Linked DNA regions of Homo sapiens: regions 1 and 2 are each linked to region 3. The links are contacts of gene promoters, found by promoter capture Hi-C in human tissues and cell types (Jung and others, 2019). All regions are on one chromosome and are shown on one strand. The core of a region is centred on a gene start or on the middle of the fragment in contact, and the rest is flanking DNA. Distances in the headings are between cores, read along the strand shown. Region 1 overlaps CCDC12 (coiled-coil domain containing 12). Region 2 holds the start of SMARCC1 (SWI/SNF related BAF chromatin remodeling complex subunit C1). Region 3 holds the start of KIF9 (kinesin family member 9).

Region 1 (4,264 bases), core at 1,176-3,675, 320 kb after region 3:
CTGGGCTGAAGGAACATCCCACAGTCGTGCTTTGAGTTGTTGCTGACCCTAGATTGTCCCTTAGGCTCTGGCCTTCTATCCCTCTACACCTCTCACCCCCAGGTGCTTGGGAATAAGTACCTCCCGGGAAGGAGCCTCCACCCATCACACATATAAACTGTAACCAGGCTGCCAGGTGGAGGCCTAGTGGTGGAGTGGAGAGAATGGACTTTGGAGACAGATCTGATTTAAACCTCTGCTCCATTAATCGCATCTATGGTACTCAGAGCAAGCCTTGAAAAATCTGAGCCTCTCTCTTGTCTATAAAATCGAGATACAGCTTCTGAACTCATCAGTAGCTAGGAGAACAGAGAAAGATGCTGTCTATGAAGTGTCTAGCTCGAGATCTTGCACACAGGCCTTTTATAAACGTGGATGCCTGTCCTTTCTTCTTTACCCTCTTGTAAGTGGGGACATCCAGGTGGTCCTGCAGCCTTCTCCGCTGGGTGACAGTGGGTGGAACTGGCCCGGTTCCAGTGGAAGCAAAGAGGTCCTTCTCCTGCACCCTGGCTTTACTCATCCTAGCCCTAATTTTTTGAAGATGGAGTGTTAGTGCAAAGTGTTAGATTAAGAAGAAAATGGATTTGCAGTCACAGCCGAGGTGGAGTGTGAGTGCCCGTTCTTCCTAAGGACTCAGCTTTTCTGCCCAAGCTCTCAGACTCCAAGGTTGTGGAGGCAGTGAGAGGGAGAATCTTCTGGGTGGGAGATTTGGGGTTCCCAACACATACCTATGGTGAGCCAGCATTTCCTTCTGAGGCCCTCAATATGTTCACGTATGAAATGATGGTGTTGGATTTATCTGAGTTTCTCAGACCTACCTGTTCGTTGGGTTGTCTTGAGAGACAATTTGCAGTCCTTTTTTCTGGCCCTACCTCAGACCTATTGTGGTCTTGGTATATAGCCTATAAATTCATGCATTCTTAAAGTTCCCCAGGTGATTCTGATGAATTTTTCTGGACATCTCTGATCAGTCCCTGGCATTCTCTCATTGGAAGAAGGATACTTTTTTTTCCCTTGGAACCTTAGCTGCCCATGCTCACTGCAGGAACTCTGCAGCTAGCCACTAATAAGTATTTATTGAGTACCAGCTGTATGACAGGCCCTGGGGATACAGCTATGAACAAGACTTCCTCCTTGCCTCAAGGGGCTTCTATGGAAGGAGTGGGAATACTTAGAAACAAGGAACATGGTGTCCCTGTTTATGTGTCCCAGGAACTTGGGAATGTGGTGTGTGTGTTGGGGAGAGGCTGTGCAGCTGCCCAGGCTGGGAAGACCACCACCTGGGAGTTCTGAGACGGGGATGGAGGAGTGAGATGCCAAGATCTAGGGAAGAGCATTCCAAGCTGAGCAAGACTAGCTTGGCATGTTTGAGGAGTAGGAGTAGAGTGAACAGTGGGAGGTATGGAAGGGGGATGAGGGTGGAGAGGGCCTGGGAGGCTGGGCTAGTTAGAAGGGGGCCTTGCAGACCACCAAGGCTGGACCTCAGGCTAAGGGGGTTGGGGAACCACTGGAGGTCTGAGCAAAGCTGACATGCCCTTGGATGACTGTGTGTGGAGGTAGGAGGCAGCTGCAGGAGCCCAGGTGTGAGGCAGTGCGCACAGACAGGGTTCCTGAGATGGCAAAGTACAGGGGAGAGGGGCTTTGAAGGGGAAGGCAAGAGTCTGGCTTTGGCCACATTAAGCCAGAGATGACTGTTAGACAGGTAAGCGAAGAGAGACATAAGCAGGCATCTGGACTAGAAACAGATACAGGATATCAAGCCCTGGGGCTAGACGAGGCCCTCTGGTGACAGAGCTTAGACCACAGAGACAGAGGACTGGGAGATCATTCTGTGCCCTGAGGCTCGCTCTGCAGGTATTTAGCAGGAGTTAGAAGAATCCAAGGAAACTTGGTGGGGTGGGGCGGCATGAGGACAGTGGGGCTGAGAGAAGCCAGGCGAAGACTGGGGATGGGTTTTGGCAAGACAAGGTGATAGGTGAGCTTGGTCCAGCTGTTTCAGGGAAGTGTGTGGTGCCAGTGGAATCCAGGCCAGCTGGGTTGAGGTGCAGCATGCTGGCCAAAGCCTTCCTGTAAATTAAGCCTCCTTTCCACTGCTTGAAGTCCTCACTGGACCCCAGCCGGGACATCCATCCCTCCTCTCAGGAGGGTAGCGCCAGTCTGAGGCAGTGCCCTTATAGCCTTGCTGTCTGAACTCACCTGGTGTTTGGATGCTGGCAGCCTTCTTGCTAGTGCTCAGGTCTTCATATTGCCACTCTAGCAACTCTAGCCCTTTTCTTTCGTTCTTTCTTTCTTTCTTTCTTTTTTTTTTTGAGACAGAGTCTCACTCTGTCGCCCAGGCTGGGGTGCAGTGGCGCAGTCTCAGCTCACTGCAGCCTCTGCCCCGCCCCGTGCTCAAGCCGTTCTCCTGCCTCAGCCACCTGAGTAGCTGGGATTATAGGTGTGTGTCACCGCGCCCGGCTAATTTTTGTATTTTTAGTAGAGATGGGGTTTCGCCATGTTGTCCAGGCTGGTCTCAAACTCCTGGTCTCAAGTCGTCTCCCTGCTTTGGCCTCCCAAAGTGTTGGGATTATAGGCGTGAGCCACCGTGCCCAGCCCGCTTTCTTTCTTTCTTTCTTTTTTCAACCTGGGAGCACAGATTCAAGTTGCCGTAAATGTACACTCCCCCCTCCCCTGTCCTTTCTGTCCCTGCACGTAGGTCCTGAGGGCTGCACTGCAGCTCCTACAATATGACCACTGCTTCTGGGTCAGGCTGGCCGTTTCTCTCATGATTCCCTGCTCTCTGGACAGGTTGCTTTGCCCACCTGGCTCCGCCACCCTGCTCACCTTGGGATGTGTAGATAGGTAAGTCTCTTCACATCCTTTTTAGCTGGAAGATGGCCACAGTACCTCCTCCCTCCCAGGATAAGGGTTAAGTGAGATGGTGTGTGCAGAAGGGAGCTGAGAGGTGGGAAGTGTGATGTGTGCATTTATTCTTTCTCCTATACTCTTATTTTACCTCTGGTTGAGGGCCCCTTTAACTTGTACCTGAGACACCACAGATGTGGAGAAGTAAGGGACCAAACACAATCACACAGGGCCAATCCCTTGTCCTCTGGAGATGGAGCCAGAGGGATGGGCCAGGGAGCCCACCGCCTCCTGGCCAAGTTTGGGGGTGCTCTTCCTCTGGGATAGAATTGGTGCTGCCCTCATCCCTTGGAGCTTTGCAAGGAGGGGCTCTGCAGTGAGCTACAGGGAAGAGAATGGGACCCCGTTCAGTTTGGTCTGATATGCTGGGGAGAAACACCTGGCCTGGGCGAAGGGTGAGCCTCTCTCTGGATTTCCCTCAGAGGGCACGGTTTCCATCGAGGCAGATGGGTGGCTATTCAGGATCCTTCACGGTTTAGCTCACCTGTGGTGGCTGAAGCACCCTCCATGTAGCAGAAGAGGCACTAGACAGCCACAAGACAAGGTTCCTCTTTCTTGCTGTGCCAGTGACACAGTTGTTCCGCCACAGTCTCCCGTTTGGTTGACTTCTGTGGTATTACAAGGTGTAAGTTGTGTTCCCCAGGCCTCACTGATAGGGGGCAGGGAATTGGAAAGCAAAGGAATGTTGAAATTCAAGCTGGTTTTTAATCTTTCTGTTAGCTTTTGCAACAAAAGAATTTGCATGGTCTTGATGGTGAATCCCTCAGTTTTTTTCTCCTGTCTCCTGGAGCCAGGAGGGTGTGAATGGGATGTGCTTCCCTCTCAGTGTCCAAGTAGCTGTCTTCTGGGTGTGCTTGGGAGTCCTTAATCTTCTCTTTGGAGGACTTTTTCCTTATGGTCCTCTTGACTGAGTTAGTTCTCTCTAGATTTTAATTATTTTATTTTATTTTATTTATTTTATTTTATTTTTTTATTGATCATTCTTGGGTGTTTCTCGCAGAGGGGGATATGGCAGGGTCATAGGACAATAGTGGAGGGAAGGTCAGCAGATAAACAAGTGAACAAAGGTCTCTGGTTTTCCTAGGCAGAGGACCCTGCGGCCTTCAGCAGTGTTTGTGTCCCTGGGTACTTGAGATTAGGGAGTGGTAATGACTCTTAACGAGCATGCTGCCTTCAAGCATCTGTTTAACAAAGCACATCTTGCACCGCCCTTAATCCATTTAACCCTGAGTGGACACAGCACACGTTTCAGAGAGCATGGGGTTGGGGGTAAGGTCATAGATCAACAGGATCCCAAGGCAGAAGAATTTTTCTTAGTACA
Region 2 (4,328 bases), core at 44-2,543, 500 kb before region 3:
CACCCTCATTTTTAAAAGATCTCAGAAACTTACCAGCAGTTAGTCACGTTCTCACAAGCAATTAGTTACTTGCTTCTCTGCGATCATATAGCATTATGTTCACAACTCCATTATGGCCAGTCATACTTTTTATGTTTCTGAAACAGGGTTTCGCTCTGTCGCCCAAGCTGAAGTGTAGTGAGTGGCGCGATTATAGCTCACTGCAGCCTCCATCTCCCCAGCTCAAGGGATCCTCCCACCTCAGCCCTCCAAGAGGCTAGGACCACAGGCTTGCAACACAACGCTGGCTGATTTTTGTATTTTTTGTAGAGACGGGGATGGGTGTGGTGGTCTAGAGCTCCTGGGCTCAATTGATCCTCCCGCCTCAGCCTCCCAAAGTGCTCCGCACCCGGCCAATATACCTTGTTAATAATTTAAAAATTTTCGGCTTCTATGTGGGCCATTCATTAACTCATCAAGTATTTACTGTACATCTGTTCCTTGTCTCAGGTGTTCAGGATACACCTGTGAACAAGTTAAGATTAGGTTCTCATGTAATTTATGTGGAAGGTAAATGAGAAACTAGAAACGCCGGGTCGTGGTGAGCGCTATGCAGAAAGTGTATGGGTGTGAACAGTTGTTCAAGATTGTTAAGATCTGACAACTACTTTCTGAAGTCCTTTGAAGCAGTGAATCTGAACGCGTCTCGTAAGTGCAAATCAGAAGGGAAGACCTGCTGAGGTCTCGAAAGAGCCAGTGCAAGGGCCCCTGGGGCAGGAATGAGCCGCTGTGGCTGGACCCCTGAGGGAGTGGAAGGTCTGTGAAGCCGAAAAGCCTAGGCGTGGGAGTCCCAGATGGCTGTTCACAAATGCCGCCGGGCCGCTGGGGGTGGAGGGCCTGAGGGAAAGCGGGGCCCGGCGCAGTCCCAGTCCGGGTGCAGGGCCCTCGGCCAGCACTCGATACCCTAGACAGGCTTTCCCTTGGGCATTTCTCGCACCAGGCCTTTTCCCTCCAGCGGAGGCGGGCTATGACACATAACCCACCTGCGGTTGTTGACCGCATAATGATTCGACGTCGGTAGCGAGGGAAGAGCAAGGCTCAAAAACCGGCGCTCACTAGGGCAGAATGCAGCCTACGGAGGATGGCGGAAGAGGCGGCTGAGGCCGCAGGACGTGCTATTCCAAGGCACGGCCGCACGAGTGCTACGCATGCGCGTGCGCTGGCTCGCGTCAGATACAGTGCCAGTTCCCAGATGGGGCGGGGCCGGGCGTCCGCGCCGGAAGAGGGTTGGCTGGGCGGGGCCGGGAAGCGGCAGTGGCGGCTACGCGCGCGGGGGTGCGCGCGGGAACGACCGGGAAACACCGCGAGGGCCGGGGTGGGCCAGGCTGTGGGGACGACGGGCTGCGACGATGGCCGCAGCGGCGGGCGGCGGCGGGCCGGGGACAGCGGTAGGCGCCACGGGCTCGGGGATTGCGGCGGCAGCCGCAGGCCTAGCTGTTTATCGACGGAAGGATGGGGGCCCGGCCACCAAGTTTTGGGAGAGCCCGGAGACGGTGTCCCAGCTGGATTCGGTGCGGGTCTGGCTGGGCAAGCACTACAAGAAGGTGGGTTCGCGCGCCCGTGGGGGCCGGGAGACCACGCGACCGGGGCCGGAGGCGGCAGCTGGCCTCGCGGGCCTCGGGCCGCCCCTCCCCCCCGCACGCCACGAGGGACAACAAAGGCAGGCGCCGGGCCCGCCACGCCCCCGCCGCCCGCTCTGGGCGCCCGCGATCCCGGGGCCTGACTGGGGTTCGGGGCTCTCTCCTCTGAGCCTACGCACCCATGGTGAAAGCCCCTGCTCAGTCTCGTGTGCCAGAGCAGGTCGAGCTCAGCCACTAAGCGAGTGTGACTCTCTCTCTTTTGTCAGCTGCCTTAGGTGTGTGAACAATGATCCCTAAAGACCGAGCAAGCGTGGTAAAAGCAGCTTCAAGTTTTGTTTAGAGCGTATTCAAAGTCTCGAGGGGGTTTGCTACCTGTTGTTGAATTGCTAAACGACTGGGATGATTGTATTCGTTAATTAATAACAGGCAATATGAATTCTAGGATGGATGAGAACTATTAACGACGGTTCTACCTCATCGTGCTTCTGGTTCTGTGTGGCGTGAGAGTTGATGGTCGCTTGTACGTAAAGTGTTCTAAAGGGAGGCCTTCCCCAAGAACCCAGTTTTTATTAGAGCACTTTTCTTGTGTCACCTTTATTTTCTTCGTAGTGTTTACCACATTTTGAAATTATTCATTTACTGATTTCTCCTACCTTTGGAACGGAAGTTCCGCCGAGTCAGTAGTTTTCAAAGTTTTGACTTAATCCTTTGTTTATAACAAATGTTTTTTTTTTTTCCAACTTCCCTTTTGTGTAAATATTCAGGAGGACTCCCTTAAAGGGTGTAATGAAGCAGGTAGCCGAAAAGGCTCCCCAGCCTCTGAAGTTTTCCTATCACCCTCTTTAGTTCTGTACTTTCTCCTATTGAGAATCATAGCACTGAAGCAAGGGCTTTGTTCACTGCAGTGTATCCGGGAACGTGGCTGATACTTATTGCCTTACCCTTAGTGGCTGCTTAGTAAATATTTGTTGAATGAATGAAAACATAAACTAGTTTAGGAACCTATTTTTTTGGCCTCAGCAGCTCAGTGAAGCCTGTCAGTGTTTGGCAGTTATTAGGCATGGGCAGGGATCTTGGGTTCCTTTGGCATTACACGTGGTACATTCAGAAATGACCATTTCTGGCCGGGCGCGGCTTGGAAGGCCGGGCGGGTGGATCACCTGAGGTCAGGAGTTCGAGACTAGCCTGACCAACATGGTGAAACCCCGTCTTTCCAAAAAATACAAAATTAGTCGGGTGTGGCAGCACATGCCTGTAATCCCAGCTACTCGGGAGGCTGAGGCAGGAGAATCTCTTGAACCCAGGAGGCAGAAGCTGCAGTGAGCCGAGATTGCACCATTGCACTCCAGCCTAGGTAATAAAGTAAGACTGTCTCCAAAAAAAAAAAAAAAAAAAAAACAAAAAAAAACCAAAGACCCAGAAATGATCATTTCTTTCTTTCTTGTTTTTGAAGGTCAGCTAGAAAAATTACATTTCTTATCTGAAGTTTGAGGAAGTGAGAGACAGTAATTATATTTTTAGGTGTCTGGACTTTTCCTCCTCTGAAATTACATTTAGACTGTAGATTTTTAGTAATATTGCCCTTTCTTACACAGTGATAAATTGGTCACTTTTTAAATGTAAGTAATAGAGCTTCCAGAAGTGGCTAATGGAATTGAATATGTTATGAAAATATTGGTTAATTCTTCTTTATTACATTCCTTTTAGCCAATGCTTTGGGTCTTAAATTCAGTGAAGCTTTAACAAAGAAAAATAATCTACAGGCATATTCCTTTGAATAATATCAAGGAAGAGAGTAGAAAAAGGCAAATTTCAGTAATTTCTACCTCTCCGCACTGTTCAGTGTGCATCAGTTTGGGATCAACTACAAGAAGCTTTAGACATGGATAATCCTTCGATATTTGTTTGGGTGGGTAGGGAAGTGGCTACAAAGCAGTTTGAGGAATTGCCCAGCAGTATTGAGACCACTAGGCTAATGTTGATTCACTATCCCTGAGACTTTATAGACAAAGTTACCTTTGACTTCTCAGGACTTTGTAAAGCCAGAGTGTATTTCTAGGGTCTACTGAGATTGAGAAACGTATATACCCTAGGCCTGACAGCCAGAATCTTTTCAGTCTCTGGGTGTTAGCGTTGAAGTGGTGAAAATATTATCACAAAGTTCTTTGCTTCTTTTCTACACAGTGCATTTCTATTTGGTGTACGCATTGGTTTTAACTAACCGTTTCTAGTGCATTTAATACTGCATTTTCAGAGCAGACAACAGTTTCAGTCTCAGTAAACATGATTTTGTTAGTGTCATTTTTTATTTATTTTTATTTTACTTTATTTTTTTGAGACAGGGTCTTTCTGTGTTGCCCAGGCTGGAGTACAGTGGCGTGATCATAGCTCACTGCAACCTCAAACTCTTGCATTCAGCTCATGCATTCAGTGAACAACTGAGCATTTACCATGTGCCGGGTACTTAAAGTATAACTCACTTAAAGTCCTCATAGCAGTCCTAAATGATAGATATTATTTACCTTCTTTTTCAAATGGAAGATACCTGAGACTTCATTTAGGAATTTTCTTTTTTTTTTGAGACAGGGTCTTTCTGTGTTGCCCAGGCTGGAGTGCAGTGGTGAGATCATAGCACACTGCAGCCTCAACCTCCTGGGCTCAGGTGATTCTCCCACCTCAGCCTCCTGAGTACCTGGGACTACAGGCACG
Region 3 (4,535 bases), core at 1,743-4,242:
ACAGGCGTGAGCCACTGCACCCAGCCATGTCTGATAATTTACTTGTCCCTTTGAATGAACAAGCAATATTCTGCTAAAAGATTACCATATTCAGTATCTGCATTAAATGTACTATTAATACTTTATGTAGAAGTATCTGTGACCATCCCACGCTGCCACGCCCTTTTTGATTCCCTGTGTCTTGTAAGATTCCCCTGGTTCACCCTTACAGCCTAAATCTTTTTTTTTTTTTCCCCAATAGAGACGGGGTTTTGCCATGTTGCCCAGGCTGGTCTCAAACTCCTGGGTTCAAGCGATCCACTCGCCTTGGCCTTCCAAAGTGCTGGGATAATAGGCGTGAGCCACGGTGCCCAGCCTACAGCCTAAATTTTAATCTAGAAATTCACACCTATTACTGCTTTTCACTAGTCTCTATTTACACCAAGTGTTGCTGCCAAAACCGGATCATTTTTCTGCTTACAAGTTTCTAGTGGCCTTAACATCTTCTACCATGTAATCACTGTGGACAAAAACTTCTAATTTACTTTTACTTCCTCTGCTTCCTTTAGTCTAGCTCATTTTTTCTCAATTCTCTTGGTTCCTCTTTCCCATATGAGAAGATCTCACGCCTTCTCAGATCACTTCACTCCTCTCCTGGAAAAACAACCTCCTTCAGGAGGGGTTTAGAATGATGAAAAGGGCCGGGCTTGGTGGCTCACGCCTGTAATCCCAGCACTTTGGGAGGCTGAGGTGGGCGGATCACGAGGTCAGGAGCAGTCTGGCTAACGTAGTGAAACCCTGTCTCTACTAAAAACACACACAAAAATTAGCCGGGCGTGGTGGCGGGCGCCTGTAGTCCCAGCTACTTGGGAGGCTAAGGCAGGAGACTGGCTTGAAGCCAGGAGGTGGAGGTTGCAGTGAGCCAAGATCATGCCACTGCACTCCAGCCTGTGCCACACAGCGAGACTCTGTCTCAAAAAAATAAAAATAAAAGCAAAAAAACCGAGGCTTACAGAGATTAAGTAACTTGCTCAAGGTTACAACTAGGATTTTAATCCAAATCCTTCTGCTTTCAAAGCCATACTCAACCATCCTACTCTACCATCTCCAGAGGTCTGACTCAACTATGTTGCAGAAGAAAAGTTTCCTTAACCATGTAGAAAATAAGAAGAGCAGGCTGGGCGCGGTGACTCACGCGTGTAATTCTAGCACTTTGGGAGGCCGAGACAGGCAGACTGCTGAAGCTCAGGAGTTCGAGACCAGCCTGAGCAACATGGTGAAACCCTGTCTCTACTAAAAATAGAAAAAATTAGCCAGGGGTAGTGGTGCGCGCCTGTAGTCCCAGCTGCTGGGGAGGCTGAGGCAGGAGAATCGCTTGAACCCAGGAGAGAGAGTTTCAGTGAGCCAAGATAGCGCCACTGCACTCCAGCCTGGGCAACAGAACGAGACTCCGTCTCAAAAAAAAAAAAAAAAAGAAAAAAGAAAAGAAGAGCAAAAGAATCTCTGCATAGTTTTATTTTTTCTTTTATTTATTTATTTGTGTGTGTGTGTGTGTGTGAGAGAGACAGAGAGAAATAGGAGAAATAGGATCTTGCTGTGTTGCCCAGGCTGGAGTGCAGTGGTGTGATTACAACTCACTGCAGGCTTGACCTCCTAGGCTCAAGCGATCCTCCCACCTCACCCTCCTGAGTAGCTGGGACTACGGGCACAGGCTACCATGCCCAGACAATTTTTTATTATTTGTAGAGACAGGGTCTCCCTACATAGCCCAGGCTGGTCTCCAATTCCCCCACTCAAGTGATCCTCTCGCCTCTCAAAGTGCTGGGATTACAGGTGTGAGCCACCATGCCTGCCCTGTTTGTTTTTTAAACAGGGATCACGCACAGATGCTGAGAGCTTTCCAGCTAAAGCCCAACAGGGAGCCCCACTGATCATCTCCCCAACCGGACGTCTCCACATGGTTCGGTGGCTTGGCCAGGCAGCAGCACAGCATGCCTCTTCCTCATGAAAAGACCCAGGCACAGGAGGGAGGCTGGCTCTAGCGACCAGAATGCTGGTGGGGAACAGGTGGTTAAGATATCTTTCCCTCTTAATATCAGTCAGCATCCCTCTCCCCACGCGGCCAGCAGGCCCAGCCCCGGGGACCTTTGTGGTGGTGAGTGGTGCCTTCCAGTATGGGGCAGGGTGGCTTCCCACCTCAAAAATTTTCCAGAGAAGATTTTAAAAGCTCTTAAGAGACAAAGTAGTAATTCAACAATTAAGGGCAATGATTCCTAAGGAGAAGCCTTCTCTTCTAGAACAGCACAGCCAAGTTCGACAGGCACAAAGAAATATCTGTAGTGACAAGAGAAGGTTCTTCAGTGGTGCCCATCAGCATGTGGAGCCGGCCACCGCCCCTGCCTCCATAGAAGGTAAGTCCATTTTCTCTTGTCTGCATGACAGAAAAAGGAGGCTGTCACCCGTGTCTCCCACTCCAAGGGCCTAAGCGGCGCACCTCTCAACCTTTCCTTTCAAGGGCTGAAAGGTTGTCCTCTTCCTCTCCCCACTCGGCCCCGATCCCCTTTTGCTCGGCACCTCTCTCCCCACTACTCGGCCCCCCTCACACCTCTTCTCCCCACCCCTCTCCCTGCTAGACCTCTCTTTCTCTGTCCCCCGCCCCTTTTTACTCCCCGCTCGACCCCTTTTCCCTCAGCCCGCTGCCGCCCAGTCCGCGGTACCTTGAGGGTCACGTCGCACAGCTTGCCCTGCCGCCGGATCTCCTCCATGACGCCGTAGCCGCGACTAGGCAACTCAGACACGGAGAAGTGCACCAGATCCTCCAGCTCCTCCGCGCCGTCCTCCACCATCTTCCCCGGCCGCTGCAACTGCGCAGGCCTCGCCGGCCGGCTAGACACTAACCAGGGCGGGGCGATAGCGCACGCCGACAGCCGCTCGGAGCGCGGAGCAGCAATCGGACGGGCCTCCGCGGCCGCCGTAGTTGAATCTCCTCGGCGCCGGAAGCCCCGCCACTCCGCTTCCTGGTTCATGTGCGGCCTTCGTTCCCTCGCTATCTCGACCTTGACTTCGCATGTGCATCCGCCGAAGTCTTTCTAGATCAATCGGCCCCATCTCTCGTCTTCCCGATTCGGCCATGACCTCACCCGTATCCTCGACGTAGGACCTCGGACTTCATTTCCGCCACCCCGACACTTCCGGAATCCCCGGAAGCGACCCGTTGCCATGGCGACTATGTACACAGCCAGGCAGCCCCGCGTGGGGAGTGCAGGTGGTTTCGGTTGCGGCAGTCGCGTCCCGGGAGCGTCGCTGCCTGGTGAACGGTGAGCAGGGGCTGCTCGCCGGTGGGAGTGGGGAGACGGGAAAAGGGTGTGCGCCCGGACTGCTGAAAGTGGCTGGGGTCCAAAAACCGCTTTATCTGGGGGTTCCCAGCTGGGTCGCTCATCTCTGAAACCCAGGCGAAGGAGGGCTCGACGTCGCGGGAGTCCTTTCAACCTGACCGCGGCTTACGGTCTTCGGAGCTAATGTTCATTGGTCCCACAAAGGGGTCCCACGTCGCGTCCAGGACATAGAGGCCGTGAGGCAGGGAGCCAGAGGTCGTCTGGACTCTTCCGTACTAGTCAGTTTTCGAACTAGAGGGGGCTTTGGGATCACCAGTCGGAGCCCTTCGTGTTACAGGTGAGGAAACCTCTCCAGAGAGGGACCGGAATGGGTCCAAAGCCCACTGCCGCCCAGGCTCCACGCGGGGGTCCGGCACATTGGGTGAGAAAAAGGAGAAAGTCTAGTTTTGCCTGCATCCTAGTCTTGTTCAGCCAAGGCCAGGTGCAGTTGGACCCAGTGTTTTGGATTCGGGTGTTGGTGCTGCCGCTACGGGTAGCTATGAGGGTTCCCCATGACAGCCCCTCATCTGGACGGGAGCACTGGAAGATAGGGACCCACCTGGTGCCTTCCACCCCACCAAACGCTCCCTTTCCTCTTGTCTAGTCTTCATGGCTGCTTGTTGCCAATTCTGTTCATTCCCACTAAAGACAAATGAGGAAACCTCGAGCGCCTTAACACAGAAGTCTCCTGGTGGCCATTCAGAGACTTGCTTTGTTATACCAGAAATATCAAAGGGTGGTTCCCCAAGGAGAGACATTCCCCACAAGGTCCTGAGGGAGAAAGGGAGGGGGCCGGGCGCCGTGGCTCACGCCTGTAATCCTAGCACTTTGGGAGGCTGAGGTGAGCGGATTGCTTGAGCTCAGGAGTTCAAGACCAGCCTGGGCAACATGGCGAAACCCTGTCTCTACGAAAAATACAAAAATTACCCGGGCGTGGTGGTGCACGCCTGTAGTCCTAGCTACTTGCGGGGCTGAGGTGGGAGGATCGCTTGAACCCAGGATGTGGAGGCTACGGTGAACCGAGATTGTTTCACTGCACTCCAGCCTAGGTGACAGAGTGAGACCCTGTCACAAAAACAAATAAACAAAAAACAAAAACAAAAACAAAAAAAGCGTGTGGTGAGGTGCTGGATGTGGATTTTTGCACCTGGAAACCAAGTGTCCTCCTGGAAGGGCTGTGGG

What was found. Contacts are between HindIII fragments. The study calls those that stand out against the background at their distance.
Region 1: a contact is called between a fragment that was not itself captured here and the fragment with the promoter of KIF9 in region 3, in 1 of the 25 tissues and cell types used here (dorsolateral prefrontal cortex).
Region 2: a contact is called between the fragment with the promoter of SMARCC1 here and the fragment with the promoter of KIF9 in region 3, in 2 of the 25 tissues and cell types used here (dorsolateral prefrontal cortex and hippocampus).

Annotation. Positions count from the first base shown.
Region 1 is chr3:46,964,600-46,968,863 of GRCh38, reverse strand. The region is part of intron 1 of CCDC12 (coiled-coil domain containing 12); the gene reads left to right. Among named protein-coding and RNA genes, the nearest start is that of CCDC12, 10 kb to the left of the region's middle. RefSeq lists enhancers at 906-1,835, 1,836-2,766, 3,570-3,619, 3,676-4,233 and a silencer at 2,133-2,304. The HindIII fragment of the contact is 9,046 bases long and covers 1-4,264 here.
Region 2 is chr3:47,778,858-47,783,185 of GRCh38, reverse strand. SMARCC1 (SWI/SNF related BAF chromatin remodeling complex subunit C1) reads left to right here and starts at 1,293. Exons shown (of 28, transcript NM_003074.4): 1 at 1,293-1,583. The coding sequence starts at 1,389. RefSeq lists silencers at 550-609, 720-769, 1,180-1,399, 1,580-1,819 and an enhancer at 1,053-1,347. The HindIII fragment of the contact is 21,057 bases long and covers 1-4,328 here.
Region 3 is chr3:47,281,256-47,285,790 of GRCh38, reverse strand. It overlaps KIF9 (kinesin family member 9), which reads left to right and starts at 2,992. Exons shown (of 21, transcript NM_182902.4): 1 at 2,992-3,296. KLHL18 (kelch like family member 18) reads right to left here and starts at 2,847. Exons shown (of 10, transcript NM_025010.5): 1 at 2,697-2,847. The coding sequence starts at 2,825. RefSeq lists enhancers at 2,864-3,253, 2,469-3,668. The HindIII fragment of the contact is 9,211 bases long and covers 1-4,535 here.